2 separate regions of the Homo sapiens genome follow, and region 1 is linked to region 2. Evidence: promoter capture Hi-C in human tissues and cell types (Jung and others, 2019). All regions are on one chromosome and are shown on one strand. The core of a region is centred on a gene start or on the middle of the fragment in contact, and the rest is flanking DNA. Distances in the headings are between cores, read along the strand shown.

Evidence for each region. Contacts are between HindIII fragments. The study calls those that stand out against the background at their distance.
Region 1: a contact is called between a fragment that was not itself captured here and the fragment with the promoter of SPR in region 2, in 1 of the 25 tissues and cell types used here (heart left ventricle).

Annotation. Positions count from the first base shown.
Region 1 is chr2:71,690,144-71,693,106 of GRCh38, reverse strand. No RefSeq gene overlaps it. Among named protein-coding and RNA genes, the nearest start is that of DYSF, 220 kb to the right of the region's middle. The HindIII fragment of the contact is 4,339 bases long and covers 1-2,963 here.
Region 2 is chr2:72,885,970-72,888,722 of GRCh38, reverse strand. SPR (sepiapterin reductase) reads right to left here and starts at 1,315. Exons shown (of 3, transcript NM_003124.5): 1 at 987-1,315; 2 at 119-409. The coding sequence starts at 1,290. RefSeq lists silencers at 261-435, 1,074-1,463. The HindIII fragment of the contact is 16,003 bases long and covers 1-2,155 here.

The sequences.
Region 1 (2,963 bases), core at 302-2,801, 1.2 Mb after region 2:
GCCATCATCATTCCCATGTTTCAGATGAGAAAACTGAGGCCTAGAGGTCACACGACTTGCCCGAGGTCACATCGCTCAGTGGCAGGGGCAGGACTTGGGCCACTGTGTGACTGATTCCAAACTTCATGCCCTTAACCACCAGGCTGGAGGAAGATCTCTGCCGTCCAGGCATCTGTTAGGCTGGGAATCCCTTTTTAGACTGAAGAAGGCTTTGGCCCTGATGTGCTGCTGCCACACGGAGCCTCCTAGCTGCATCTGGATCTGCAAGGTTGGGGGAGAGCTCCCAGGCCAGTGGCTCCAATGAGAGCTGAGAGGGGCACTTTTCCTGGGGTTTCAGGGTATCTTTCTGTCTTCTGTATCCTGAGGCATCTTTGACCTCGTCCTCTTCTACAGGCAGTAAGCCCGGATGGTAAAAGTGCTCCAGGGGAGGGAGAGGGAAAAACAGATCACAAAGAGGCAAAATACACCAGCAGGTATTTTAAAAATGTATTACCCTTTATACATGTGAGTGATTTGTGTATTTCGCTCTTTTGTTTTGCCCTTGGTTCTCGGTCAAGTTCCTTTAGAAAAGATCCCAGAACACCTCTGTTGACGTAAAGGGAAGAGTGTCCTACCTAGACCTGAGCTCAATGAGGACACAAGTGGGCTCCACAAAGTCCCCCCAGGGGGGCCCCGATCCCCCACAGGAATGCGAGGTGGGAGTCTGAGGAGGGAGTCCGAAGAGCATGAAGCAGAGGCAGGCTCCAGGCTAGGCGGGTGGTGGAAACAGGGAGAACCGGCCAGCAGGGGCAAGCGGTAAGCCTGGGCGCCAGCAGAATGGTGTGGCTCCGGAGCTGCCTGGATGAGGAGCACGTGGAGGAAATGCTCCGGCGATTGCGTGAGGTTCTTGGTCTTGTTCCTGTCCCCGGCTGCCACTGTCATTCTGTCTCTGCCCCTCACCATGAGTCTGTTTCTCTCTGCATCTGCCTCATCTGCTGTCTCTCTGTCGCACACACACCCCCGACCCCATGAAAAACCGAGACCAAAACAAAGGCAGAGAAACAGAGTCTGCAAGCCATGCTGGGCCAAGCCACAGGGAATAGGAGCCGTAGCTATTTTTCCCTGGAGGGAGGAACAAAAGCACATGGGGAAAGGGGAGAGGGGAAGGTTGGCGTCACTCATTTCAATAGCTCGCAGCCGTGTGAGGACCTCGTGTGTCGGGGTGAACCCTTGCCCTCACCCAGTTCTCTTTCCAAAGCAGGAAACGTTTCCTGGGCTGTCACCGGGTCCCAGTCAGGGGATGCCCACCTGGCTCCTCTGGAAATCCCATAATCCTAAATTTATGAAACACATGGAGAGAGGATTGAGACAAGTTTGAGTTCCCTGGGGGTGGAGGCAAACTGGGGAGGGGTTGTGGGCTGGACAGCAGGGGCTACACTCAGAGCCCTTTCTGTCTGTCCACGCTCCCATCACCCCATCCTGGACTATCCACACAGCCCTGGAAAAGGAGCAGAAAATGGTGTGTGTGTGTGTGTAATCTCTCAAAAACACCAGCAGACATCACCCCATCCTGGACTATCCACACAGCCCTGGAAAAGGAGCAGAAAATGGTGTGTGTGTGTGTGTAATCTCTCAAAAACACCAGCAGACAAAATAAAGGCAGGGAACTGAGTATTCCGGATACAAAAGGCTTATCAAGCTTTATTGAACCGCTTTTCTTTCACAGATGAGAGTTATTCTCCACCTTGCTGCAAGAATTGGTCTCAAATGTTGAGAACTAACTGAATTTAGGAACATAAAACCCTATTTGAAATGGCTCTGAGAGCCTGGCTATTTAAAGAAAACTTGCAATGAAACACTTAGTAAAGTCCCTTCAGTGAAGGAAGCAGACATCTCATTAAGAATTGAGATGTGATTTCAGCCCTGGAGGCGCAGACTCCAGGGGTGGGGGTGGGACAGTCAAGTCTGCCGGTTTCAATGGAGTGTTAACAAGCCCTGTAACCGAAGAGGGACCGCGTTGACTGAGTGTGGCAGACAGGCACCAGGGCAGGACAGGGGGAACACCCGGAGGAAAGGGCCAAGCTGAGACCCAAGAGATGGGCACGGCAGAAGGAAAGGCAAGAGGTGAGCAGGGAGAGCGAGCAGGGCTGGCCTCCCTCCTGAGGGCAGTGGAGAACCACGCAGGGAAGATCTGAGAGAGAGGAATGGCCAAAGGCAGTAGCATTTGGGTTTCAATGACGTTGGCCTGCTAGGGGCCTGATCATAAGTGGAGATGGTGGTAATGGGAAAAGAAGTAGCTTGACTCAGATTCAAGAAGCAGAATTTGTGGGATTTGGTGATGTGTTGGATATGAGGAGTAAGAGGCGATAGGCCTCAAGGATGCCTCCCACAAGTGCAGCTCCAGGGACTAGATGGGTGGAGGGAAAAATAGAGCAGGAGTTTTATAATGGGGTGGAGGATGGAGACTTTGAGTGGGAGGGTTTGAGTTCATAGTGCCAGTGCGTAAGCAGTACACTAAGGCGCCTGCAGCGGAGGGGAGAAACTGGGCTACAGTGAGGGATTCCGGGTTCATTCACCTGTAGAAGGCAGAGAAAGTGGGGCAGGTGAGGGTGCCTAGGAGCCATACAATACGAGAACAGCGCCAGGGAAAGAGACCTGGGGAACATCACAGACGAACAGAGAGGGACGCCAAGCCACAGGGAGAGGAGGACCACCAGGCGACTGTGGTATCACAGAAGCTGGGTACAGACAGAAGGTTGATCAAGAAGCAGAGAACGTCCGTGCTGTCAGCCACAGCTGAGTCGTGAAGGGTGAGCGCCCACAGATTTAACCACCAAGGCTAGATTGTGCCCTTGTGTGAATTAGAAAAAGGTGCCCCTTCCTCAAGGTAATTTACTTCTATCAGAAAACTACTGTAACACACTGATTTTATTAGAACAAAACACTTTACTGCCATCTGTGGGAAAATTGCTATAATAAATAAT
Region 2 (2,753 bases), core at 66-2,565:
TTCAAGGACAAAATCCTGTGGGTTGTTTCCTGGAGGGGGCGGACTAGGCCGCTTGCCCAGCCCCCAGAGGCGCACCAGTGGGTTCTGGAGGACAGGGACGGCAGGACTTCCCACCTACCTGGGGCATAGTTCAGCACCCTCACATTAGGTTCCTCCAGCGCCAGGACCTGGAACAGCATATCACGAGCAGCCTTTCCTGCACAGTACAGCGCCCAGCCTTTGAAAGGTTGCAGGGCACAGAGGGACGAGATGTTAACCACGGTTCTGTTGAGGCCAGGACTGTCCGGGAAGGCCTTCAGGACGCTGGAAGTCAGGCAGAGCATGGAGGTCAAGTTCAGTGCCCAGTAGTTGTTCACTTGAGTGGAGTCACTCAGGTCCACGAAGCCTTTGGACACATCCCCAAGAGAGCCTGAAAAACCAACCCTTAGGAGTAACTCAGTGCAGGCGGGGCTTTCTTCTTCCCCAGCCCTCCCAAGTTCCTCCAGATATCCTCTTCCCATGCAGACCTAGAGGAGGAAGCTGCCTAGCGCTTCTGAAGAGGCTTCTCTCTTCCCCAGCTCTGCGGAAAGACACAGCTGGGGAACCTAGCCATCCCAAGCTGCAGAATGAGAAGGCACCTGCCTTGCCGTGGGGCTGAAGGAAAGCTCTAGCGGTCCTTTGGAGAAGCAGAGAGTTTACTTGTTTGGAGACTCCAAGCCCTGACTCAGGCCTCCGCCAGAGGGCGCAGAGCAAGGGGCTCGGGAAAGTTCTACAGGCGCTTTGGAAAACCCGGCTGGCCAATTTTCCAGGAAGTGGGGGCAGACTGTTGTCCCGACGGCACCGAGTCTTCCTGTACACCTCGCCTCCACTTGCTACTCAAGCTGGAACAACTAGGGCTTTAGATTTCTAGGCGTCCTATCTGACCCCTAGGAGTAGCCCTTAAATTCCCCAGCGGTGGAGGAAGTGGGCGCTCACATGGGGAGTCCGCTCCAGCCCCGGGGTCTTACCCGCGTTGTTGATAAGCAGCAGTCGCTGCAGCCCCTTGGGCCGGGGGAGCTCGCGCAGGGCGCCGAGCAGCTGCTGCAAGCCGGCCTCGGCGCCCAGGTCGGCGGGCACCCGCACCACGCGCAGGCCAGACCGCTCGGCGCCCAGCTCGGCCTCCAGCTGGCGCAGTGCCTCGTCGTTGCGGGCGCTAAGGACAAGCACGGAGCCGGGCGACAGCAGCGAGGCCAGGAGCGGGGCCAGCGTCCGGCCGAAGCCGCGGGAGGCCCCGGTCAGCAAGCACACAGCACGCCCCAGCCCGCCCTCCATGCTCCTGTTCTCCGCCGGCGGCGCTGGCACCCGAGACCAGGCAGGAGGCGGTGCGGCCGCGGGGGGCGGGACCGCTACGGGTGTCGGCGGGGCCGCCCTGCCGGGGCGGGGCGGGAACCTCAGGCTTCGGGCCGCGAGCGCCCAGGGGTGCTGGTTCCCTTGGGATCTGGTTCCCTTGGTTGCTGGTGGCGGAAGTCAAACCGTGGCGGTAGCCCAGTCCGTGCCAAGTGGGACAACAGAGAGGGCCGGCAGGCGCGGCCCACACGGAAAGCCCTAGCCCGGTTCCCAGCGCTGCCGTGTTCTTCGCCCGCAAGCTCAGCCTCCGGCTGGGACGCATGCTCGAATTTCCTCCCAGTTCCAGCCCTAACTTTGCACTACTGACCTCTTCCAGGGCAGGCCCTGCACTGGGTGCTGGGCGTCCCTGGTCGTGGCCAGTGAACACCCTGAATGAAGCTTATGCCTGTTTAGGAATTGAAGTCTCTGCTTGTTTGGGAGCTCACCGCTCTCTGGATGACAGGAGCTTCCTCTGGGAGAACCACAGTGGCTCCAAATGATATTAAAACCTTTCCCTTTTACTAGGCCCTGAGCAGCTCCGTGATCCCACCAGTAACCCCTGCTTCTCTGAGATTTCTGACTCCTGTCCCTAAAAGTGTGTTCCCCAGGATTCTGCTCCTGCTCATGCTACAGTCTCCCTGGCAGCAATTCCATCCACTTTCAGCTTCAAGTTTGCGCAATCATCTGTCTGTACCTCCAGGCAGGTGCTTCAGAAAAATCCACATTTTTTTTTTTCTAGGAGAGGAGGAACGTGAGACAAGTTGGCATGCAGCTACATATATTAAAAAGGAATCTCTTCATGGTTTCCTTCTTAGTGGCCGAGTGGTATTCCATTGTGTATATACATATGTCCAAATATTGTGTGTCAGTTTTTAAAAAACGAATCTCTTTAGAGTTTAGCAAGGGCAGTAAGTAACCTCTGATAACTTAGCCCAATTCCCCACAGGGCTGATCCCTCCCCTGGGGCTAAACAGCAAAGTTACCGCCTTTCCACTATTATTGCCAACTCTAAGGAAGAAACAACTTGGAGGAAGGCTTTTTTCTTTTCTTTTTTCTTTTTTTTGACAGAGTCTCGCTCTGTGGCCCAAACTGAAGTGCAGAGGTGTGATCACAGTTTACTGCAGCCTTGAATTCTTGGGCTCAAGCAATCCTTCCACCTCAGGCTCCTGAGTAGCTAGGATTACAGGTGCGCACCACCACGCCTGGCTAATTGTTTTTTAAGCTTTTGGTATTTTAACGCTGATAAGACTCTGTATATGTGTATACCATTTGAAGTTGCCCTGCTTTTCACTTACCTATTCACACTGAAGATAAAGATCTCATTGGCCCAACAGCTTACTATTTAAAGAATTTTAATAGCTTCTCCCTGCTCTCCAGGCCTTAGAAGACAGGTTGATGAAAGCACGATC